Regions from separate parts of the Homo sapiens genome. Here regions 1, 3, 4, 5, 6 and 7 are each linked to region 2. Evidence: promoter capture Hi-C in 16 types of primary human blood cells and fetal thymus (Javierre and others, 2016). All regions are on one chromosome and are shown on one strand. Each heading gives the region's core, a stretch centred on a gene start or on the middle of the fragment in contact. The rest is flanking DNA. Distances are from core to core; before and after follow the strand shown. Region 1 has its middle 6.5 kb from the start of METTL18. Region 2 holds the start of F5 (coagulation factor V). Region 3 overlaps FIRRM (FIGNL1 interacting regulator of recombination and mitosis). Region 4 has its middle 16 kb from the start of SELE. Region 5 overlaps FIRRM (FIGNL1 interacting regulator of recombination and mitosis). Region 6 has its middle 23 kb from the start of METTL18. Region 7 overlaps BLZF1 (basic leucine zipper nuclear factor 1).

Region 1 (3,626 bases), core at 138-2,637, 200 kb after region 2:
CGCACCATCTAGTTTACAGAAATTCACTAGAAGTTATTTATCCTAAAATAGCAGAGATCTAGAAGAATTTTGAGCTCTAGGACATTTTAGACACACAGAAAGAAGAATCTGGACAAGTCTTGACCAGACATGACAGAATAGAAATTTCTTTTCCTATTTATCTCTTTGAATAAAATTTTCAGGATCTTACAGTGGACAAGTTTGTTATCTACACATTGTGAAGCACATTGATTTCTCCTCTGTAGCCTTAGGAAGATCTGAGAGGTGACTGAGCTGATTGAATGATCCGTGACCGCTCTACTGGGACCAGTAGTAGAACTTTACTGGTGGAGACCTGCTGGAGGTTTGAGAGCAGACTTTGAAAATTACTAGAGCTACACAGATACTGTGTGGCTAACTGGATTATGTTTAGAGGCTTTCAGAACTATGCTGCTGCTGCTGCAGTGTAGCCAGGACGCACAGAGAACATCTAAGGCTCTTGAATGGGGCGATAGGGACAGATTTCAGCAGCCATCTGACTTCAGTGCTCATTTTGATGCTTTCCCTGCAGGGTGCAGTGTGCAGTGTGCAGTGTGCAGTGGTGGGAGGCTCACACAGGAATACTTGCTTCTGTAGCCCTAATTTCCGGTTCAAACTCTGCATTCACCTTGACAGATTCTTTCCTTGGCCAAAATTTAGTTAGGCTTCTGGGCTTTCTCTTATGCCCACCTGCAGACTTTTTGGTAAAATCCAGTTTTAGTAAAGAGCTCTGCTAAGTCAGTTTAGCAAGAATCCCCACCTCAAAAGTCACTATCTCCCTCCCTGGTAGTGTCTGGCTTGTCTTCAGCGAGAATTCTATTAGGTTCTGTTAGATTAGAATCCTCCTTACCCTTGATGCTTCCTCTTAGTATTTTTTCATCCACTGACTCCTTGACCCACCTTGCTCCTCGGCTATAAATTCCCACTTGCCCATACTCTGCAGTTAAGACTATTTTCTCCCCACTACTGCAAAATCCCATTGCCATGGTCCCTATACTATCTCAATGGTAATGAATAAAGTCTGCCTTACCATGCTTTAACAAGTAACATTGAACCATTTTTTTCTTTAACAATCTGCTGCACAATGAGATTACTAAAACTTTATTCCATTTTGCCATGCTGGATGTCCTCAATGGAATGGCTCTTGTGAGCACCAAATCATTGTGAGAAGGAAAACCCATCTCTTACAGCCCCCTGTAACGTGATGTATGTTACATGTGATGTATGTTACATAGTTTTTTTTCATGTTGATCACTTTTTGCCCATTTTCCTATATCTTATCAGTTGGAAGACTGTGGAAGTTTGTAGTACTAAGCCACAAGATGACTAAGAAGAGTTGAAAGGGCAAGTGGGGCTAAAAACAGATTTTGTTTGACTTACCCCACCATTCCCCCTATCATGGGGCTGAATCTGCCTGGAGGAAGGAGCATCTTTATCTTTGTACTGTGAACCACACAGTCTAGCAGCAGCACAGCCAAGGCACTTGGGGTTTCATGAGACTAAGTACATGCAATTCTATTGTAAAGGCTTAAAATATATACAACTGACCCTTGAACAACATGAATTTGAATTGCATGGTCAGTTATACGCAGATTTTCTTCCACCTCTGCCACCCCTGAGACAGTAAGATCAATCAATCCTCTTCCTCCTACTCCTCAGTCTACTCAAAGATACTTGAAGTCTACTTGAAGATGACAAGCACAAAGACATTTATGATGATCCACTTCCACTTAGTGAATAGTAAATATGTTTTCTCTTCCTCCTAATTTTTTAACACTTTCTTCTCTCTAGCTTAATTTATTGTTAAGAATACAATCTATAATACATATGACATACAAAATATGTCTTAGTTGACTGTTTATGTTATCTGTAAGGCTTCAGGTCAAGAGTATGCTATTAGTGGTTAAGTTTTCGAGGAGTCAAAAGGTGTATGTGGACTTTCAACTGCAGGGGGGTGGGCACCCCTGCCCCCATGTTGTTCAAGGGTCAACTTTACTGCCAAAGGCAAGCCTTTACATCCACTTTTTCCATCCCATCAGTAAATGGAAAAAGATAGCTACAGTATCCCTGCGTCAAATCTTTTTTTTTGCAGATCACAAATTGGCCACTCACCTTGCTCTGTGAGGGGTAAAATGCCCCACTTTCTTTAGTAATATTTAAGTTAGATAATATTTAAGTTATAAAGTTGTTCTTTGTAATCGTTAATTGTAATTTTTACATAGTTTCTTTCAAACAGAAATAGCATTTTTGTTAGATAACCTCCCGTATAGATGATGAAACTCCTTTTAAGGGCTATCTGAATTTTAATTCCTTGAAAAGGCAGAAATTGGATAGCTAGTAGTCATAAATGTACTGTGGCTTCCCCCAACCATCTGGGCTATATAGAAGCTGCATCCTTGGACTGCAGTAGAGGAGTCTTACAAAGCACAGAGCAACTTCTCTCCTGGGTTGCGCTAGTTATGATGGCAATTTTAAATGTGTACTTTTACCCAAAGAAAATCCTTATTATCAACAATCACAATGCCATCATAACCATGGTATAAAAAATTCAAAATGTCCCAGCTGAAGTGGAGGCAAAGACTCAAGTTCATGGAGTCAGAGTTTCCTTGCTATTCCTCTTTTTCAAATGACCATTTAGTAAGCACCTGAAGAAAATACTATGGACGGCATTGAAAAGTGAAGATAGGTTTAATCTTCTCGAAAATCTAATTCTCCAGATGAAACGCTGACACTTATCCACCCCACAGACCCTATAGCAGATGTGTCACTGGCCATCACATTTGACACAGAGAAGTCATAACTCAGTCAGCACAGAGACATTTCCATGAGTTTCTGAACCATGGACAGAACGTCGTCTGTGGGACATGAAAACTGGAACTTAGAGGACAGGCACATCTGAGAAATGGGCAGTTTAAAGGCAGAACATAGCACATATGTGACTGGGTTTTAGAAGCAAATTTACAAGACGCACTCTTCTTCATCCTAAATAATCTGCAACCAAAGCTTCCAAAAAAGACAATTTAGGAATGCAGAGGTGAGGAGTAGGGAGGGGAATGGGATGAGAGAGAGTGGAGATTAATGGTGGGCAGAGCGAGGTTTAGAACTTAGTGGTTTCTTCAGGTTCTGAACTGAAATTTGTATACTGTAAAGGCACAAACACCATTTTTAACAAAAGTGAGCAGGACTTCCTATCTGGTTCAGAAAATAGGTGAATAAATAGTACGAATTATTAAAAATAATAATTTCCACTTATACATAGGAAACTTGATAGGAACCATGATAAATGCTTAACTCTTAATCTTCAAGGAACTCTGCTAGGGATATAATATTATAAATCTTGTTTTGCAGATGGAGAAATTGAATTTTAACCCAAGTTATCATAACCCTTAAATGATTAAATGATACTGTTACATGAGAAAGCTGCGTATCTGTTTCCTGGATTTGTAGCCATAATTTGTGTCTCAAGTCCCTTTTGCTGCCAGCTATCTTGGGTAGGTGTGTTCCCTTTGGGCTGTTTGATACCCCCACATTTATCTTTTTTTTTTCTCTTTTTTTGTTGAGAGAGTCTTTCCCTGTTGCCTAGGCTGGAGGGCAATGGCGCGATCTCG
Region 2 (3,649 bases), core at 777-3,276:
GTGACTAAACAAGTTTTCTAAGGAAATTTTTGAAAGTGTTCACCTTAGACTTGGAGCAAGAATAATAGATACATTTTACCTTTAAAAGGCATTGTCCTGCTAATATTATATGAAATAAGTAGATAGATGTCTGCTTTGTGCTAAAATACACTTTGCCAAAAGATGGAGTTGGCTATGTTGATATTCACCTAGTGAGTATCATAGCTCTAGGGGCAGGACAAGTTAGAACAAGTTCTTAGTTTAAGCAGCCAGATATATGGATTAGATTTTTCATAAGAAAATGCTAGAGAGAAATGATATGATTTAGGGTTAAACAATATGACAGTTTGTCTGGGTTGTGTTTCTATGGTTTTGACTCAACAATTCCTACCAGAGGAACGAATCTCCAGAACTTTGGAAACTTACCCACAGGATGAGGGGACAGAATGACCAGTCATGGTTCCCTGTGTACTCACCATGTGAATCAGACCTTTGCCCTATCTGGTTCTGCCTCCGGTATTTTGCTTGTTATTTTCAACGCTAACTACAGACAAGAGAAAAAACTCCCAAGCATGAACCCAGCATGCTACAAGAAAGCCAACAACCAAGTCTGCATTCTACTCATGAGCAGGCAAGATTAGTGTTAGAAGGACTGTTATTTTCCTTGGGGTTTTAGCTTACGGCAGTTCCCAAAGGGTGTGGGTGTGACCTAGATTATCACTTTGAAGTACGATATTTAAAATGATTATTTTTGAGAAGGAGGGATCTCTTCTTATTATAAGACCAAGATGGTATGTAATACCCTCCAAAATAACCCAGTTACAATGAGAGTTTTAAAAAGGTTAATATTATACACTAAAAGATCTCAAAATATTACATTATTTTTTGGCAGATTACTTTGGTTTTGTAATTGTAAAAGAGGAACACATCTTTCATAATGAAGTGTGATGTAAGGAAAAAAAGTGAGTCACACTAGCAGGTTTACCATTTAAAAAATAACTAACTGGAAATATTGAATAGACTGTATGATTTAGTTAATTTCTGAGAAGTCTTATTTTTAACATTTCAATTAGAAAAAATAGTTTGCAACTCAAGGATAGTATTTTATCTGAATTAAACCTCCTCTCAGTTACATATGCCTTTAAGTAGCCAAGGTAAACCATATCCCAGGACATGATGAACAGAGAGAAAAAAAAATGAAGAGTCACATTCAATAGGATAAATAAGTCAAATATGAAGCAGAAAAAAGGTGAAAGTACAAAAACATACAAGAACTGATGATATTTTGAAAGTCATTTATAAGGCAGCAATAAAATTATATGACAAAAAGCACAAGGTGTTCATTTTTAGTTTTAGAAGATGAAGCTATGTAGACAATGGAATAAATAATATGTAACTAGGAGTCTCATAAAAATACTATACAACTAAAAATCTGGAACAGGAGTTTGCAGGAAGGGCTAATGAGGGAGCAAGTGCCTGGTGCCTTTGAATTAACCAATATATAAGCCAACACAAACATACTAACAAAACTGTATTGAAAATAAACTTGAAAAGAAGGTAGCATCTAACCAATCAAATAGGGTGCTTTCTAAACCCTCAGAATGATAAACTACATTGTTGGATGCAAAATTAGCATTTGCCCAGTTTATTTAATTCAGTATACTCTCCTATTAGTTATATTTACTTACCTGAAGTTAAAAAAAAAAAAAGCCATGACATTGCAAAGGGAATGTTCTCTAAAAGAAATAGATTTTCCTCTCTAGAGAAGCCCACCCGGACTCCACACCTGAGTTACCTTGAGTTTGTGGGCTCAGGTCGGTAGCTCCAACTGATGCCCTGAGCAGCCACGTAGAACTGCCTTAGCTGTGCCGCTTCTGTCCCTTGGCTCCCCCAGCCTACCCAGCTGGTGCCCAAGACCACCAGGACCCAGAGGCGTGGGCAGCCTGGGAACATGCTTCCTTTCCTGCTCCCGCTGGCTGCCACCACCCCAGGACCTGGGCAGCGCTTGCCGAGCTGCTAACCACACTCCGGGCTGTCCCAGCTGCAATGAGCTCTAGAGGCTGTGGGTGGCAGCGTCCTCCTCCCCTGCAGTTCTTGCAAACGGCAGCAGCAGCCTCTGGCTCTCACTCCCTCCGCTTTTTCTGGGGCTTTTCCTGGCAGGGGTTTGGTGAGATCACAGCTCCCAGTGACCAGAGGTATTAGGGAGAGCAACCAAACTAGTGACTGTTTTACTGCAGGTGAAGAAGGGGCAGAGATCAGAGGCTCTAGCAGGCGGGACAATGCCCAGGGATTCATGAGCCGGACAAAGCTGTATCCCTCCATTTCCACCTGCCAACACCACGGAAGCAGTCGTCCGTTACCACTGACCTGAGGCCTGCCTGGGTCCAAGCTCACACTTGGAGAACCTTCTGTGCAGTGCAGTGGCACCCAACCACCTTAAGCAGATGGCTCCCCTTTTAATCTGAGGAAAAGAGTATTGTGCCCTGTTACTGGGCACTGAAACACTATTTTCAAGTGGTGAAGAAGCAGGGAACAAACACATGGACAAGGCCTACTGCTCTGAATCGCCTTCCTGGCCTCTATCAAGGCACAGTTCTGCCTTGATAAGGGCCTGTCGCCAGCTAAGCTGCAGCATAGCAGCGGGCTTGAAGAGCTTGGCTGAAAAAAATCAGTTGTCCAGATTTCAGTTTCACTTACTAGCTGTGTTGTCTTGGGCAAGTTACTGTACCTCTCTGTTCAGTTTTGACATCTGTGAAATAAGGATGACAATAATAATTTTTCCTGATAGGGTATGTTGGGAGGATAAAATGCTACTGTAAACTATAGTTCCAGCACTTAACACACAGAGGCTAGGCGCAGTGGCTCACGCCTGTAATCCCAGTACTTTGGGAGGCCAAGGCGGGTGAATCACCTGAGGTCAGGAGTTCAAGACCAGCCTGGCCAACATGGTGAAACCCTTCTCTACTAAAAATATAAAAAATTAGCCGGGCGTTGTGGTGGACACCTGTAATCCCACCTACTCGAGAGATTGAGGCAAGAGAATTGCTTGAACCTGGAAGGTGGAGTTTGCAGTGAGCTGATATCATGCCATTTTACTCCAGCCTGGGCAACGAGAGCAAAACTCCATCAAAAAAAAAAAAGAAAGAAAGAAAAAGAAAGAAAGAGAAAAAGAGAGAAAGAAGGAATCACAAATTTATTATTATGATCATATTTTCCTGTCTCCAGGACCCCTTGTATTCTTGTTTTTCTTGAAGGATCTGACTGTTTCACAGCACCTTAAATCTTACTTTGCTATTGATAGAGAATCTGCGAATTATATTGTCTGAGGCATCATAATGACTTGTCCTGGGTTCCCTGTATCTGCATGGCTCCAGGTTTCTGTCTTATGCTTTATGCATTCAGTACATTCAATAAATTGTAATCTGGCACCTCACATGAGGTCTCTGTTAATGATATCAGGCTCATCAACAGCCTCTTCCTCCCTCCCCACTCCCCCCAATATTCTGTCTTTTCTCCTGTGCTGATATTATTGCACCAACTTAGAATGCCCATTTTCTTCCTCTTTGCTGGGCCATTCTTTACAGTCCAGAGTTCTGCCTATCTCCCAGATTCTGGGCTCAAATTGGCTTTTCCATTTTATGAACTATTACAACACTATTCAAATTATATA
Region 3 (3,738 bases), core at 765-3,264, 220 kb after region 2:
ACTATTTATTTATTCATGATTCTGTGAGTCTGCAGTTTAGGGTGGGATGTCCTGAGACAACTTTCTCTGATCCACCTGGGGCACTAGCTCACCCATGTGACTTCAGTGACTTCATTCACATCTGGCTGTTGGCAGAGGCAGAAGTACTTGAGAAAGCCATGTGCATCATCCAGCAGGTTCACCCTATCTCAGATACCTGATGCCAGTGGTTTCAGGGTTTCTAAGAGTAGCAAAAGTGTGAGCAGGTCGCTGTGTGCTAGCACTTTTCAAGTTTCTGCTTGCCTTAATTTTATTATTGTCCCCCGGGCCACAGCAGGTCATAGCGTTTAGCCCAGAGTCATTGTAGAAAAGTGTGGATTCACAAAGGGCAGTCATTGTGGCCATTTTTATAAATAATCTACCACAGACTGAGTAAAAGCCTTGCATGAATACCATGGATATTAATTTGAATTCTTCCTTTTTAGATTTTCTTTCCTTAGCAATTTGTTTTGTCATTTTGGATTAGAATTATATCTGTAGAATATTTCAGTTATAATAGGGTACAACTTTTATTCCACTGAACATCTTTAGTTTTATTTAGGTCATCTGGTAGGTATAAACTTCAGAAGTTAATATTCAATATTTATAAAAACCATTAACAAGTGTGACACTTAAATAGTTTAAATAATTCTTTTGACACAACTGTTTCCAAGTTGTGTTACGTATTTTAATTCAATCAAATGTTGAAATTGTTCAGTAGATAGTTTTAATTATAGGAGAAACTCACCCCCATGACATTTGGATGTCTTAAAAGTTCTGTTATCTTTCTTTGCAGTTATTCATTCTTTATTGGATATCTGCTCTGTTATTTCCAGTATGGACCATGCATTTCATGCCAATACTTGGAAGTTTATAATTAAGTAAGTTTGTTTGTTATTTTTTACTTTTTAGAAAATGTTTTCCATATTCCCCAATCTTAATTATTCATGATTCTTTAGATTGCATTTAAAACATTTTGTGTGAATTTAATGTTCACTGACACTGCTGTCTGATAATCCAGATATTCTACATGTAGCTCTCAAGCCAAATTGGACTTCTTTACCCTGTGGCCTCTAAAATTAAAAAAAATGTTCTTCCTAGTTAGCTAGTACTTCAGAAATAATGGGCCATGGGCCAGACTAGAACTTAACCACTTTTCTTCTGCTACTGTTGTTTAACCAGCTATCAAGTATCCTATTTCTAGGATTAGATAAATTGATAACTATAATTAAAACTGAATATAATCTTTTCATTAGGTACTTTTAAGTTGTTCACACTTAATTCCATTTGTACAGTAATTTTAACTTTCTGAAACTGAAGCATTTTAAAGGGTCACCAGGGATAGTGCCTGTAGCATTCATCAGATTCTTAGGGGTGAGAGGAGATGTGGTTGAGATGTAAAAATGGTTAAGAATATCTACTTTATACACATACATAAAACATTAAAGGTCAGTGTATTTTCAGGTCTTAGGTACTTTTCTTGTACTACCAGGACATTAAGTTGCCATTCAGTGGTTAAGAGTGTTGCCTGGGAGCTGTATCACATGTGCTTAAATCCATTCTTGAAATCATTTACTCCTTCTGAGCCCTTGGGCTATTTGGTTAATTTCTCTGAACGTTAGTTTGCTCATCTGAAAATGGAAATAATAATAGCAACTTCTTGACAGGGTTATAGTGAGAATTGAGTTCATCACTGTGAAATGCTTAGAAATGTGCATGACACATAGTTAATACTCAAGGAATTAGCCACATCACTATCATCATCACTGATTATCTTCCACTCTTACCCTCTTCCAGTTCATTTTCTGCCCAGCAGAATGATCTTTTAAAAAGTAAATCAGATCATGTTACTCTATTGCTTGAAGTCTATCCCATTTGATTAAGAATAACAACCTAATCCTCTGTGGATGCTGCCTCCTTCACCAGCCTGTCTCATGCTGCTCTCCCTACTCTTAGTTCCTCAAACATACCAAACTCTCCTGTCCCAGAGTCTTTTCGTGGTTTTTCCATCTGCCTAGGATGCTTCTCTCTCCTATTTTGTGTACCTTGCTAACTCCTGCTTACTGTCTTTCAGTTCTCAGCTTAAGAGTTATATCTTCATGATAACATTCTTTGATATCCTTACCCTAAGATTAAGTTAGATTGATATCCTTACCCTAAGAATAAGTTAGATTAGGTCTCTCTATTGTAGCACCTTAGACTCTGTCATTTGACAAATCACAGCCCTAATTAATTATTCTTAAAATTATTTAACATTCTCTCTCATGCTAGACCACAAGTTTCATGCAGGTAAGGCGGAGATTGTGTCCATTTGTTTGACCCCTTTGTCTCCAGGGCCTGGTAGAATGCCTCATACATAGTAAGAATTCAATTAATATTTTACACAGAGAAAAAATTAGCAACTTATTTAAACAAATATAACTGCTTCAGAGGTAAACTGGGCACATCTTAGTTATATTATGTGATATATGATGCTTTTTGATTGTTTTTTTAAATGTTCTACAAGGTAGATATTGTTAGAGGTCCTAAGTTACTTGATGTGTTACTTGTGGTGATTGTATTCTTTTCTTTTTATTCATTTAGGCAGAGCCTTAAGCACCAGTCCATAATAAAAAGCCAGTTGAAACACAAAGATATAATTACTAGCTTGTGTGAAGACATTCTTTTCTCCTTCCATTCTTGTTTACAGTTAGCTGAGCAGATGACACAGTCAGATGCACAGGTAAAATTTGGGCTAATAGCATTTTAAACAGCAACTCTTATTTTCTTTGGCAGTTAGTAAATCTCATTTGAATGTCTGGGTCAGTCTATTTAAGAGGATTTTAATTTATTTCATTTGGGTGTTTTTTTTTGATCTGTGGGATTATTTATATCCCATAATTACTTTTCACCCAGAGCATTGTATTAGATTCCTAACTGCTGTCATTGCCTCTGGGGTCTGCCTGGCTCCCTCTTTGCTTGGTAACTGGTTGGTCACAGCATTCTTCTCAGAATCCTTTCATTCTTTTCTGCATGAGAACAAAAATTCTTTTGTTCATATTTGTATAAGATCTGATATAGCTGCAATCAATCTTGCATTTTTTCTTCACCAACGCATTGCGACCTTTAGGGATACAAGTATGTTTGTGCATGTATATGTATGTATCAGTCTTTTAAATTTGATATAGTCATACATTTGTTTTTATTTTGAAAAGTTAGAGTGTTGAATTGGTATCCCATTTATGAAACATTATATTCTAAAAATTTGTAGTACGATTATTGGGAATTATAACTCATTTTCCTGTAACACTGTTATACATAGTACCTTTTGCTTTCAGACTAGCCCTCAATTTTATTTAACTATAGTAGTCCTAAATTATAAGATTAATAGTACTCAGGACCTAACAGTTATATGTCATTTGTTTTTTTTTTTTTTGAGATGGCGTCTCACTCTGTCACCCAAGCTGGAGTGCAGTGGTATGACCTTGGCTCACTGCAGCCTCTGCCTCACGGGTTCAAGGGATCGTTCTGCCTTAGCCTCCTGAGTAGCTGGGATTATAGGCGCCTGCCACCACGCCTGGCTAATTTTTTTAGTAGAGACGGGGTTTCGCCATGTTGGCCAGGCTGGTCTCGAACTCCTGACCTCAGGTGGTCCACCCGCCTTGGCCTCCCAAAGTGCTGGGATTACAGGTGTGAGCCACCGCGCCCAGCCTATATGTAATAATTTTAATGGGACCATGA
Region 4 (3,402 bases), core at 25-2,524, 160 kb after region 2:
GGTATTCTTAATGGCATCTAGAATGGTGAACGTTTTCAGAAGGTTTTCAGTTGGCTTTGCCCGGATCCATCAGACGAATCCCTATCTATGGAAGCTATAGATTTATAAAATGTATTTCTTTTTTTGTGGGGGCATAGCGTCTCACCCTGTCACCCAACCTGGAATGCAGTGGCACAGTCATAACTCACTGAAGACTCAAACTCCTGGGCTCAAGTGATTCTTCCACCTTGGCCTCCCAAAACACTGGATTACAAGCTTGAGCCACTGTGTCTAGCCCAAAATGTATATCATAACTAATGAGGCTTGAAAGTCAAAGTGACTCCTTGATCCATGGGCTACAGAATGGACGCTGGGTTACCAGACATGAAAACAATACTCATCTCCTCATACATCTCCTTCAGAGCTCCTGGGTGAGCAGGCCCATTGTCAAATGAGCAGTAGTATCTTGAAAGAAATTTTTTTTCTGAGCAGTAGATCTCCACAGTGGACTTAAAATAGTCAGTAAACTATGCTGTAAACAGAAGTGCTGTCATCCAAGCTCTGTTTTTCCACTGATAGGGCAAAAGCAGAGTAGATTTGGCATAATTCTCTAGGGCCTTAGGATTTTTGGAATGGCAAATTGAGCATTGGCTTCAACTTTTTTTTTTTTTTTTTTTTTTGAGACAGAGTCTTGGTCTGTCACCCAGGCTGGAGTGCAGTGGTGCAATCTCGGCCCACTGCAAGCTCTGCCTCCTAGGTTCACACCATTCTCCTGCCTCTGCCTCCTGAGTAGCTGGGACTACAGGCACCCGCCACCATGCCCGGCTAATTTTTTGTATTTTAGTACAGACGGGGTTTCGCCATGTTAGCCAGGATGGTCTCGATCTCCTGACCTCGTGATCCACCCGCCTCGGCCTCCCAAAGTGCTGGGATTACAGGCGTGAGCCACAGCGCCCAGCCTGTCTTCAACTTAAAGTCGCCAGCTGTGTTAGCCTCTAATAAGAGAGTCTGCCTGTCCTTTCAAGCTTTGAAGCCAGGCATCATTCTCTTCTCTAGCTATGAAAATCTTAGATAGCATCTTCTCCCAATAGGAAGCCATTTTTTATGCCCTAAAAATCTGTCGTTTGGTGTAGCCACCTTCATCATTGATCTTACCTAGATCCGCTGGATAACTTACCACAGTGTCTACATCATTACTTCTGCTTCACCTTGCACTTTTATGTTATGGGGATGGCTCCTTTCCTCTAACCTCATAAACTAACCTCCACTAGCCTCACATTCTTCTTTTACAGCTTCCTCGCCTCTCTCAGAGTTCACAGAATTGAAGAATGTTGGGCCTTGGATTACACTTTGGTTTAAGGGAATGCTGTGGCTGGTTTGATTTTCTATCCAGAACACTAAAACTTTCTTCATATCAGCAATAAGACTGTTTCACTTTCTTACTATTTTTTGTGATAGCACTTTTCCTTTCCTTCAAGAATTTTTCCTTTCTATTCACAATTTGACCGTTTGATATGAGAGGCCTAGATTTTAGCCAATCTCAGTTTACACCATGCCTTTTTCACTAAGCTTCATCATTTTAGCTTTTTATTTAAAGTAAGATGTGTGACCCTTCCTTTCATTTGAACACTTACATGATGATGCCTGGCTTCAAAGCTTGAAAGGACAGGCAGACTCTCTTATTAGGGGCTAACACAGCTGGCGACTTTTAAGTTGAAGCCAATGCTCAATTTGCCATTAGAAGCCATTGTAGGGTTAATTAATTTGCCTAATTTTAATATTATGGTGTCTCAGGGAATAAGGAGGCCTGAGTAGAGGGAGGGAGATGGGGAAACAGCCAGTCATCAGAGCACACACAACATTTATCAATTAAGTTTATCACCTTGAGGGCACAGGTCATGATACTTCAAAACAATTACAATAATAAAATAAAAAATCATTGATCGCAGATCACCATAACAGATATAATGATAATGAAAAATTTGAAGTATTGTGAGAATTACCAAAACGTGACACACAGACACAAAGTGAGCACATGTCATTGGAAAAGTGGTGCTGATAGACTTACTTCATGCAGGGTTGCCACAAATACTCAATCTGTAAAAAATTCAATTATCTACATAGTACCATAAAAACAAGGTATACCTGTTTATATAATCAAGACCAACAGAACCCTAGAGAAAATAGCTCACTCCCTAGCTCGGAGACATTCTAACCAACATACACTTACCTTTCTTTTTGCTGTGTACAGAATTCAAATCCCTGTCTCAGCAAAATTGCAAAGTATCAAATGTCATGTCCATCTAATACTCAAAACTGCAAATGTTAAGTCTTGTAAGCCCAGAGACCACTGTATATACAAGTGTTGCTATAAGCATTAGTTCTTCTCCAAAGAAAATAGTCCACTTGGTAGAAACAAACAAAAAGAAAAAAAAAGAAAGAAAAAACATTTTTTACAAGAAGATTCAGTCTCTTACCTACATAAGCAAAAATATGAGATGTTCTCTTATCATTTTTCCATCTATCTTATAATCTTTGGTGCTGACTTAGACACTCATTTTCCTTTTTGTACGTGACCATGTAAAAGTTCAAGTCAAGAAAAACTTGTTTTGACATTTGTTTTGCTGAGTGATGGGTCCCTAAAAGAAATTTGGCTTTGCTTTTGAAAAGTTCAGCATGATATTGTGTGAATTTTTCATGGCTAATGATTTTTAGAACAGTTGTGATGTGTTTAGGTGTTTTAAGAATATGAAGCATTCAGTGGTTTAAGTTGGTTGTTATAAAATGAAAGAATATGAAGGAAAGCCTTCTTGTCTTAGAACACACTGATTCACAAATAAGCAGCTTCTCTCAAAATGTTGTAATTACAAAAATTCCAAGGCAAATATAATAAACTCCTTGTCGGTGCTATGTCTAGAAACTTAACAGCCCCAAAGAAAGTCCTGACAAGGCAAAAAATATATATATATATACAAATTGTGGAAGCAGGGTGTTGAAAGAAGAATAAAGACTATATAAGGACAAACTGTTTAAAAGGGAGGGTATCCTTGAAAGCTTGACACTTGACTCTTTTGACGAGGCTGAGGGAAAACACTCAGTTTCATAGATTGCTGGTACGGATGTAAAATAGTGACATCCCTATAGAGAGGAATTTGGCAATATCTAGCAAAAGTGCTTATGCATTTATTCTTTGACCTAGTAATCCCGCTTCTAGGATTAGTGGTGAAGATACACCTCAACAATAAAAATATATATACATTAGGTTATTAGTTATGGTTTAATTTTTAATAGCAAAATATTTAAAACAACCTACATGAACAAATAGGAGACTTACTGAATAAACTATGGTATATCTGTACAATAAAGTGCAATTCACTTATGTTGTTAATTTGTTCCAAAAATCCAGAGCCAAAGAGTATTTGT
Region 5 (3,619 bases), core at 826-3,325, 240 kb after region 2:
TTCCATATAATATCTAATTTAGCTATTTAAGTTTCAAGTTCCTTGAGGAACTTTGACTTTGTGTAACTCAGTACCAAGATAAACAGTTGGTAAATGATGCAAAAAATGTCCAGGAAAATTCTCCTTTAAGGAATTTCTTTGACAGTGAATATATTTTCCTTTTATGTGTACATATTCACACGTGTTGGAAACTATTGCTGATTATACCTCTTGAAACATTTTCTGCTTAAACAACCTTCCATGTTACATATTATTATTATAATTGCTAATTAGTAAATGTTATTAATGTTGGGTTCAATGTTCTCAATTTCCCTGCAGGATATCTCTACTCAAAGCCGTTTTCTACAGTTTTGAGCAGTGTTCTGGTGAACTCTCTCTACCTGTTCATTTACAGGGATTAAAGAGTAAGGGGAAAGCTGAGGTGGCTGTCACCTTGTATCAGCATGTTTGTGTTCATCTGTGTACATTTATTACTTCCTTTCATCCCTCACTGTTTGCTGAACTGGTAAGCATATTACTTACTGTGCTAAGCTAAGGTTACACTTTTGCTTTCTCTTCATTGAAATTGTGATTCATATACAGAAGAAAATGTGGGAATACTTAGTATATTCCTTTTGAGTGAAACTTAGTTGTGTCCTAGAAAATGGTAATCCCAGATTCCTGTATTATTTAGATCTAATATTTGGCTAAAATATTTGAGAAAACATTTTGGGTGGGGAGGTATGCAAAGACAATGTGAGAAGAGGAAAAATATGTAGTACTTAAGTAAGTTTCAAAAGAAAAGTAAATAGCTTGTAGTATCAGGTCTCTTATAGATCTCAGACATAATATAGATTTTAAAAAGGATAGAATTTGATTTGAAAAGAGGTTAAGAAATTCTAGGAATTCGATACTTGTAATATCTGAAATTTAAAGATCAGTAGCATTTCAGATATTACACAATATCTAGCACCTATTAAATGTTGTATGTGAATAAAGGCAGAAAGAGGAATATAAGCATATATGTTATTTATGTTGTTTTGAATATTTCAGGCTACTTAGAGAATCTTTGTGGATCCTAGTGACTGAGTTATTACATTTAAAATCATGTTGAACTCTCCATAGCACAGCACAGTACTTAATGTATAGTAGGTGCTCAATAAATATTGAGGGAATGGCAGTGTCCTTTCAGATACTAGAAAGTAGAACTCCCCCATTGAGGATCTGTTATTTGGATTCTGATAGTGCTTTCTTGTTTTATTTTGAGAAATATAATATTATTGCTTATTGTGAACTTTAGTATTTAAATAAATTAATTTTTCTGTTTTTGATTAGGATGCTGCTCTGCTGAATGCTGTACTTAGTGCTAATATGATCACCTCTTTGTTAGCTATGGATGCATGGTGCTTCCTTGCTCGGTACAACATATTTGCTTTTTTGTTCTTTGGATTGGTTATTAGTAGTGACTGACAGTAGATAATTTTATAATTGTAAGCTTATAGAAAAACTGTTTCAATAATCCTTTAAAAATAATTCCCAAAACGCTTTGATTTCATATTACAGCATTAAATTAGGAAACAAGTTCTTTCTTTGGTTCAAGCCAATAGATGAGTACTGTTTAGGGAGTTTTGTATATTGTGATATTATTTGGTCATGGAAATAATGGCAGTTTTTAATGTCCTCATCAGAATATTTAGTGCTTTATGCAAGTTCATCTCCTTATGTTTCTGAGTAATTGTATAAACATAGTTGTCTTCTCTTTTATATTGCAGATATGGGACTGCTGAACTGTGTGCACACCATGTCACCATAGTGGCTCATCTGGTGCGTAGAATTACAAGGCCTAAAACACCCACTTTCTATGCACTTCCTTTGGGGATATGATAATCTTTAAGAATGTGAATATCGGCGGGAGAAATATCACAGTAACAAGATTGTTTTGACAGTCTTTGTCTTGTATTAATGCTGATGCTTTTAAGAAGGATGTACTAAAAAACCGTTAGTGTGAAACTGGGAATGTTTTCTCATATTCTCAGGATTTTATGTAATTTCAGTAATTGTTCTGGGAAGGAAAGACTGGGTTAATTGAAATTACATTTAAAATTGAATGCAAAGTAGAAAATAAGAGCGACTTATAATTGATGGCCAAGAGGTTTCTCTCTTCTGTCTCTCTAATATGCCTTAGACAAGTCGACTCTTGATTTTGTTGTATTTTTTTTTTAAGTCAAGATGATTTGAGAGGAACTTGAGTTTGACATTGATAGATACTTTTGGCAAAAGAAGTCATGTTTTATGAATGGGTACAGACAGAAAATTATTTTATAATGATTTCATCATCTTAACATTAACATTTTTTGCTTTTAAATTCTGAGGTGTTTTATGTGTTCCATATAAGATGATTATGACCTATTTGTTACATATTTTTTTCCCTGGCCTTTAAGATCTTATGTGGGCCATACATCTTTTGTTTTCTAATAGTCTTATTGTATCATATATTTCTTGGTTTACCTTTAAAGGATTTTGTAGATCAGATCCAGTGAGGTGTGTAATAACCTGAACAGCTGACATCTATGTCTCCATGGCTGATGGTCTGGATTATCACTTACACACTTTACTAAATCCTTAACATATCTTTCACAAAGCAGATAAAGAGTGATTTTTATGTTATGTGTTTTATGTCTGAAGTTTCCTTTAAATAAAAGCTTTCTTAGTGCATTATGTTGTAGGAATGGATTTCTTCTAGTTCATTATGATAAAATTGATTCCAGGATGGAATGATACTATATTATGATAGGAATTGATAAAATTGAATTTATAAAATTTTTTTGTTAGTGGTGGTTTTTTTCTTAGAGACAGGGTCTCATTCTGTCACCCAGGCTGGAATGCAGTGGTGTGCAATCATAGTTCACTACAGCCTCAAACTTCTGGGTGCAAATGGTCCTCCTCCCTCACCCTGCTGAGTAGCTGGGACTACAGGCATGCGCCACTATGCCCAGCTGATTTTTAAAACTTTTTGTGGATATGGAGTTCTTGCTGTGTTGCCCAGGCTAGTTTCAAACTCCCGGGCTCAAGCAGTCCTCCCACCTTGGCCTCCCAAAGTGCTGGGATTACAGTTGTGAACCACCACACTCAGCCCCTGTAACATCTTTTAATGAAGCTTCTGTCTTGTAGAGTTTTATCTACCTCTCTACTATTGTAGTTAGATCTTAAAAAGTTCCATGAATTGTCTTTGAGTAGGAGGACTGACATACCCAGTTATCATCAAAATGATAATTAGAAATAGAAATTACAGTGTTAAATATGTCAGAAGTTCAATCTCATTCTAAATTTAGATTCATTGAAGATAAGAAAAGCCCCAAATTAAAAGTCAATATTACCTACAATCTTTTCCCCTAGAAAGAGCTGCTATTAATATTTTGGCATATTCTCTTCTTGTAAAAATTCTGATTCTAAATTAGTCAGTCTCTCCTCTCTCTCTCATGTCTTTTTCCAGATAAAGTCATGCCCTGGAGAATGTTATCAACTCATCAACCTATCAATACTGTTGAAGCGTCTCTTTTTCTTCATGGCACCACCCCATCAGGCAAGGAAGGATATCATCTTTGTCACTGTCTGTGAAGCTGCTCAGAGTTGGATTCAG
Region 6 (3,761 bases), core at 102-2,601, 190 kb after region 2:
TTAAAAATCACTGGAGGTTTTGCACTAGGGTGAGAGGTGTGATTTGTATTTTTAAAAGATAATTCTGGAGAATTAACTATAATGAGGTAGGAGTAAACTAAGTTAGGGGCTATTTCAGTGGCTCAGACAAGAGATAATGGTAGCTTAGACTAGGATAGTAGTCGTAGAAATAAATAAAAGTGGCACTCTACTTTGGGGGTAGAGTCTATAATAGGTTTGGTTTATGGATCATATATGAGAGTAAAAAAAAGAAAATAAATTAATAATGGTTCCTAGGTTTGTACCTGAGCAACTGAATAAATGGGTGCTGTGAATTGAGATAAAGGAGATTGAGAATCACAGGCTTTGTTTTGCAAATTAATTTTGAGAGGCTTATTAGACATCCCAGTGGAGATTTCAGGTGAGTGGAGCCCATTGAAAGGTAAGGGACAGGGTCAGGTGTGGTAGGTCAGGCCTGTGATCCCAGGACTTTGGAAGGCCAAGGCAGACAGATCAGTTGAGCTCAGGAGTTTGAGACCAGCCTGGGCAACATGGGAAAACCCTGTCTCTACAAAATATGCAAAATATTACCTGGGCATGGTGGCATATGACTGTGGTCCAAGCCACTTGGGGGGCTGAGATGGGAGGATCACTTGAGTACAGGAGGCGGAGGTTGCAGTGAGCCAAGATCTCGCCACTGCAAACCAGCTTAGGTGACAGAGTGAGAACCTGTCTCAATAAATAAATAAGAAACGTAAGGGAAAAGGAAATTAATCTGATCATTGGCAAATGCATAGTATTTAAAGCCAGGGGAGTAGATGAGATACTCAAAGTAGGTGAAGATAAGGAGGCAATGAAGGCCTAGGACTCTGGTGTACATTTAGATGGTTATAAGAGGAATAGAAACTGGCAAAATAAGTAACACTGAGCACCCAATGAGGTGGAGAGGAAAGCCAGGAGATGAAGCATCATAGAAGGCAAGAGAAGAAGGGTGTCAAAGAGGCGAGGCAGTCATCAACTTCTGGGCAGTCAAATAATATAAGGACAGAAAAGTGACCATTGGATTTGGAAATATGATGAGCACTTTGAGTGGAGTGTTGAGACAGAAGACCAATTAGAGTAGATTGAGGAGATAACGAGAAATGAGAAAATGTAACCTGCAAGCACAGACAATTCTTGAGAGACTTTTCTGTGAAAGGAAACAGACACAGAGTCTTAGCATGTCTTGTCTTTCTATGGGAAATGTAAATAGTTTGAGATCAGGGATAGTATTTTATTCTGCTTTTTGTACCTCTACATTACCTAGCATAGAGCTAGCTAATGTGCACTTAAGTATGTTCTCAATTCTTATCGCCTGAATGACTGGATGGGTGAAAGAATGGATGGATGGATGGATGGATGGATGGAAGGATGGATGGATGGATGGAAGACTTCTGATTTGCCAAGAAGAGGATACTGGTAGCAGAAATAAAAACAGCACTGGAGAAAGAAGAGTTTAGATTTTTATTCTTTGGTGTCAGTTAGACAGGAAAGTAAGACATTAGAAGAGTCCTTAGATAATTTATGTAATTGTTCACTTAGGATTTTTAAATGTGATCACTGATATTGGACATGTTCCTAGTGAAGCATTTTTGGTGTTTCACTGGTTGAAGTTAATAACTGTAAAATTATTTCCCGTTCAGGACAGAAAAACAGAAAACTTGAAGCTCCTATTAGAAAGTTCAAGATTCTCTGGGGTTCTTAGGATTTACTGTTCCCAAAACTCTGTCAAGAACAAGAAAATGACCTGTATACTTAACTGGTCTAGGCAACAGTGGAAAGACAATTCTCAGAGAAGATTTGTTTTAAGAAGACACTTTCCATAGGAATCAAACAATAGCTTTCAGTGACTAACATGGTAAGACACAGGGTGTTAGCTCTTTCCTTCCAACCTCATGGCTGTTGTACCTTACCTTTCGACCCCGTGTTCCTGAAATTGTTAAATTCATAAACTTACCAAGGACTAACCAGCCTCTGGGGAATTGCTGTATACTTAGCAAACTTACAATGGACATATTTATAAGCCATAATGATAACTGACTAATAGGAAATACCCTCAACTGAAAATGAGAGATCATCATTTGCAAATGAGTTCCCTTGCCCAGGCAACTACTGGGGAAAATGTCATGCAAGCAAAATTAATCTTTGAAATCCTCCTTTTCCATTTTTTGTGTCTTCCTTTTCCATAGGCACCAGAAATATCATGGTGCCTGGATCTCATCTCTACAGAAAAAAAAAGTGATTTGATAAACTGATTTATATTGTGTCCAAATGTGATTGTATTTTCAAAGATAACCTAAGGGGAGAATGCTGTCTGGCCCAACAGCAGGCTCTCGACTTCATTTCAGACACTGTGGCCAATGGCTGGGAAACAGGTATGAACAGTAGGTTTCTGAGTCCCCTGGAATTATTCCATTTATGTAGCCACCTCCATGACAGGAAGCCTCCCTACTCTTACTTCCCAGTTTGTTCATTCATGGCACCAGGTTGCAGATTAAAATTTGCTCAGTGACCTTTTATCTAATAATGTGTTACCTTCTTCTCTTAAAAAGTACAAGGGACAAATGCTCATGGTATACTTTTAGGAGATTGTGGCTCTCTATTAACAGTATTTATTCAACAAACATTTATTGAGCATTTATATGTGCATCATGCTAGGGACTGGAACCTAGTAAGTGTAGCACATATTATTTCATTTAATCCTCACAACAAACCCATGAGGTTGGTTTTATGATCCCAATTTTTCAGAAGAAGAAACTGATATTCAGAACCAGTTAACTAACTGGTTCAAGGTCATGCAATTTCTAAGATACAGAACCAAGAGTCAAAGACATGATTTTAAACCAAAGCTTTTTCTGCTACTCCACATTGCTTCCCTAGGTGAGATCTGAGGCATTCCGCGAAAAGAGAAGGGTCATAAAGCCAAGGGAAGACAAGCTTAGGAAAAAAAAGGGAAATGTCCTAAATAAACAGCTTTCCTATTTACCAGAAACCACTAGTTTAAAAATATAATGGGAAAAATCCTATTCACTTTAACAATGTTAAAAAAAAAAAAGATAGAAGAAACATAGGGATAAACTTAACACATTTGTAGGATATGTAAAGAAACTAAAAGATGTTAATAATGGCCTAAAGAAAAAAAAACTTACATGTATGGGGAGATAGACCATCTTACTGGATTCTAATATTTAATAGTCTAGGTGTTCCATTTCTCACCAAATTAATGTATACATTTAATACAATGTCAAACGAAATATCTTAGGAATTGCTTACAAATTGTCAGATAATTACAAAGTTTACCTGGGAAATATAAGCATATATGAAGAGTGAATGGGACCCCACCACTCCCCCCAAAACAAAAAAGGTCTGAAAAGGACAGAAATCAAGGAGAGTCTTGCCTGCCAGATACAAAATTCTATTATAAAGGTGTATTGATGAAAACAATTTAATACTAGTGTAGCAATAGGCAGCAAAGCAATGAAACAGCATAAAAAGACCAGAACTATACCTAATTATGATGAAGATTTAAGGTATGATAAACATGACATAATTCAAATCAGCAGAAATTGGCATAGATAGGGTTAAGACAAATAGCTAATCATTAGAGGGGAGGAAGGAAAGGAGGGAGGATAAAATTAGGTTCCTGCCTTCATCTTACATTAAAATAAATTCCAGATGTATTACATTTAAATTTTTTTAAAAAAAGAAACCACAAAATACTTGAAGAAAATATAAGTTGTTAT
Region 7 (3,366 bases), core at 117-2,616, 210 kb before region 2:
TACTCTTAAGTCCATTGTATGTAACTTATTTTACTAATTTAATAATAACTAAACTTTATTAGGTGATATGGGTGACATTTAAAAAGACTCTTGATTTAAAATTACCACATGACAATCCCTAATTTGTTTAACTGTATCATAGCTGAATTTGTATATGTTCTGGAAAGTCTTTCAGACTATAACCAAGTTAGGAATTAATGATTTAGGGTAGAGGAAAAAAAATAAAGCAGTTTTTAAATGGGTTAGTTTTTGGATGTTAAAAATGAAACACTCTAGGTAGTGTATTAACAGACTAATGAGCTTCAGTAAGCATTTATTCATTTTCTCTGTGACAAGGACCATTTTATTAGTTCATGACACAAAGATTAGGAGGCGGTCCATACCCTGAAGAGCTCCCAACAGTCTAGTCTACAAGAGAAACAAATTATTTTTAAAATATATACTACCATGTTTGCATTACTCTGAAAGCACCAAGGGATGGGAGGAGGATGAGGTTAAGTGCTTTGTCCAAGGTCACACAATACATGGCAGTAGGGACTTAAGTTATTTTAACTCAGGCTCTAGTGAGTTAGATTTCTTTTCACTACCCCATTCTGCTGACTTAGAGTACCTCTCATCATAGATTGAAGTTTTATGAATAAAAGAGAAATATTTGTTCAATGACAGACAATAAATTTTTTTTTGCCTCAATATTCTAGAGCAAGGGTTGGCAAATTGTGGCCCTCAGCCTCCTGAGAATATCTGCAATCAGTTTGATAATAGTGGACATTAACACTATTTAAGCCAAACATTATCCTGAATTAAAAAAAAATCTGTTCTTCCCATTATTAGACCTATGTTATCAAAAAATTGTTTTCAATTATTGTTGTTATAGTTTGAATTTCATCAATAAATTTTTTTTCTCTTATTAAATACTTACATGGTATCCTCAATTTTACCTTTTGGTTCACAAAGCCTAAAATATTTACTCTCTGGTCCTTTACAGAAAAAGTTTGCCAGCTCCCATCCTAGAATGTTAGACTAGTGACCTTCTTTGTTCTTTCCCTACATTTCACCAATCCTGGTAGGCAATACGAATGAGCAAACCTTAGATATGTTTTAATTCATTGATAATTGATCACAGGTGGAAGTAATGATGATGAATAATTTAAGGATTGTTTTGTTGGTTCCCTTCAAATAGTGGGGAAGAATAAGGATTGGTGTTTTTCTTGACTTAAGCGTTACTCATAATTATGGAGCTGTTACCATAGGTCCTTGTCTTCCCAATTGAGAGAAGGTAATTATTCGTAAATGTGTCCTGGATTGTGCCTACTGCATATGTAATAAAGGTTTCTAGGTATGTCACAAGGAAAAATCGAATTACGAAAGTTACCAGGTGAGAAAATGTTAAGCCCTGGCTCTTACGGCCTGTTTACCTATGCACATTAGCTAGAATCATAGTTATTACTGAGCGGGAGCTCTCACGTAATATATAATACAACTTTGATATTCATAAATGCTTGAGTAAGTAGAACAGTTTAAATAAAGTTAAGAGTAAATTGGGGTGGAAACAAGTTGGTTGAACTTCTTGATTTTCCAACAAGGTATTTTGTTCAAAAAGAGATTTCTGTTAAATACCTATTAATGGTTCTTTGCCTTTTAAATTTAACTTTAATCATTTTGTAATTTGTTCTTGAATCTCTGTTACTTAAAATTCCAACTCAAAAATGTTACAGCTTGCCTAGAAATTTTATTTGACCATAATGGAAGTATCACACCTGTTTTTTATTTCCTCAGCCTCAGTGGGCCTGAACCATGGCTGTAGTGCGTGTTTTTATTGTTGATGGTTTTTATTAATTTATAGTTAATACATGATTCTGTGTTACTTCTTAAATGCCAGAATGTCTTATTGACAAGATTAGACAAGTTAGTTAAGTTTAGACAAACTTAAAATCAGATTTTAAGAATACAGGTAGCTGGGTGTGATGGCTCACATCTGTAATCCAAGCACTTTGGGAGGCTGAGGCCAGAGAATTGCTTGAGCCTAGGATTTCAAGACCATTCTGGACAACATGATGAAACCCTGTCTCTACAAAAAAAAAAAAAAATACAAAAAAAATACAAAAAATTATTTGGTCATGGTGGCACATGCCTGTAGTCCCATCTACTTGGGAGGCTGAGGTGGGAGGATCACCTGAGCCCAGGAAGTCAAGGCTGCAGTAAGCTGTTTTTAAATGATTCAGTGGAAGTTCTCCTTGTCAGTGCTACCATGCTTTGTTTTAACTAATTTACCAAACCCAGCATGTTAGGCCTTTATTTCACTTTCTGAAGTATTCCTTTGTTTATCTTTTTAAAAGTAGAGTCAATCCCAAGGCCCAAGGGGTGTTTAAACTTAGTTTACATTTCATATGGAAATGACACGATTTTATTCTAATGTAAAATGTTTTGTAAAATAGAACACATTAATTATACCTCAGCTATGTTTCCACCTCCTGTCTAATTAACATAACTCGAGGTTCCCAGAACATTTCTACATGGGAAAAATTTGAAAAAAGTAAATCTGTTACTTGAATAAATAGTCCTATAGTCTAGCAATATAACTTTAAGATTTACATAACAGAATGAAAGTCAGAATTGTATTTTATGGCATTAAATAAATTAACTTTATTTCTGTCTATATCAACATCCAAAGTTTATTAGGAATTTATTTAAAGAATAATAAAAGCAATAGGACCTAACATTTAATGAGTGCTTACTGTGTCAAATACCATTCTAAACAGTTTACATGTATTCTTATTTATTTTTAAGTACAATATAAATCATAGGTATTGAGCATGCAAATAAATAAATAGTAAGGATATTAGGCATAGATCCACAGATACACTGGTAGAGTGATTTTCGAAGGCATTTCGGCCGTACAGATCTTCACCAAACCCATTAATTTTATGCTTGGGAATTTATTTGAAAAAATAACTCAGAAGTTAAGAAAAATATGTAGGCATAAAAGTGTTCAATAAAGCCTTATTTATTATAGTGAAAAATTGTAAAGAGTCTAAATATTCAACAGTAGAATAAGAAAGTAAATGCTATATTAACTTGAAGGGAATATATTCTAGCCATAAAATAAAAAATATGTTAAGCTTACGAAATTTATTACTGTTACAAGTATAAAAGGAATTCTGTTTTAAGTCTTTGTTTTAGGAGATTACATTACACACACACATATATATATAAAACATATATATAAAAAACATATATACATATAAAACATATATATATAAAACATATATATATATATATATATATATATATATATATATATGGTCTGGCTGGACAGTGATGAATTCACTGAAGACCAATCAGTAGTTCATGATTGTCCTTAATGTT

The links. Contacts are between HindIII fragments. The CHiCAGO score rates a contact against its expected background, and 5 or more counts as called.
Region 1: a fragment that was not itself captured here is called in contact with the fragment with the promoter of F5 in region 2 in 12 of 17 cell types (neutrophils, total CD8 T cells, naive B cells and 9 more); the score reaches 13.9 in neutrophils.
Region 3: a fragment that was not itself captured here is called in contact with the fragment with the promoter of F5 in region 2 in 14 of 17 cell types (neutrophils, naive B cells, monocytes and 11 more); the score reaches 17.1 in neutrophils.
Region 4: a contact is called between a fragment that was not itself captured here and the fragment with the promoter of F5 in region 2, in 1 of 17 cell types (naive B cells). The highest score is 5.1, in naive B cells.
Region 5: a contact is called between a fragment that was not itself captured here and the fragment with the promoter of F5 in region 2, in 4 of 17 cell types (neutrophils, naive B cells, total B cells and 1 more). The highest score is 9.2, in neutrophils.
Region 6: a fragment that was not itself captured here is called in contact with the fragment with the promoter of F5 in region 2 in 5 of 17 cell types (neutrophils, total B cells, naive CD4 T cells and 2 more); the score reaches 6.8 in neutrophils.
Region 7: a fragment that was not itself captured here is called in contact with the fragment with the promoter of F5 in region 2 in 1 of 17 cell types (neutrophils); the score reaches 6.0 in neutrophils.

What each region holds. Positions count from the first base shown.
Region 1 is chr1:169,786,622-169,790,247 of GRCh38, forward strand. It overlaps a transcript of FIRRM not described here. Among named protein-coding and RNA genes, the nearest start is that of METTL18, 6.5 kb to the right of the region's middle. The HindIII fragment of the contact is 3,263 bases long and covers 1-3,019 here.
Region 2 is chr1:169,584,455-169,588,103 of GRCh38, forward strand. F5 (coagulation factor V) reads right to left here and starts at 2,027. Exons shown (of 25, transcript NM_000130.5): 1 at 1,775-2,027. The coding sequence starts at 1,932. RefSeq lists enhancers at 1,501-2,002, 2,003-2,502. The HindIII fragment of the contact is 11,391 bases long and covers 1-3,649 here.
Region 3 is chr1:169,805,190-169,808,927 of GRCh38, forward strand. It overlaps FIRRM (FIGNL1 interacting regulator of recombination and mitosis), which reads left to right. Exons shown (of 25, transcript NM_001320047.2): 8 at 815-899; 9 at 2,602-2,740. Among named protein-coding and RNA genes, the nearest start is that of FIRRM, 12 kb to the left of the region's middle. The HindIII fragment of the contact is 6,965 bases long and covers 1-3,738 here.
Region 4 is chr1:169,747,994-169,751,395 of GRCh38, forward strand. No RefSeq gene overlaps it. Among named protein-coding and RNA genes, the nearest start is that of SELE, 16 kb to the left of the region's middle. The HindIII fragment of the contact is 544 bases long and covers 1,003-1,546 here.
Region 5 is chr1:169,828,945-169,832,563 of GRCh38, forward strand. FIRRM (FIGNL1 interacting regulator of recombination and mitosis) reads left to right here. Exons shown (of 25, transcript NM_001320047.2): 14 at 319-505; 15 at 1,315-1,397; 16 at 1,752-1,803; 17 at 3,473-3,562. Among named protein-coding and RNA genes, the nearest start is that of FIRRM, 36 kb to the left of the region's middle. The HindIII fragment of the contact is 1,207 bases long and covers 1,473-2,679 here.
Region 6 is chr1:169,770,433-169,774,193 of GRCh38, forward strand. No RefSeq gene overlaps it. Among named protein-coding and RNA genes, the nearest start is that of METTL18, 23 kb to the right of the region's middle. The HindIII fragment of the contact is 3,028 bases long and covers 1-2,865 here.
Region 7 is chr1:169,372,131-169,375,496 of GRCh38, forward strand. The region is part of intron 2 of BLZF1 (basic leucine zipper nuclear factor 1); the gene reads left to right. Among named protein-coding and RNA genes, the nearest start is that of BLZF1, 5.6 kb to the left of the region's middle. The HindIII fragment of the contact is 3,501 bases long and covers 1-3,117 here.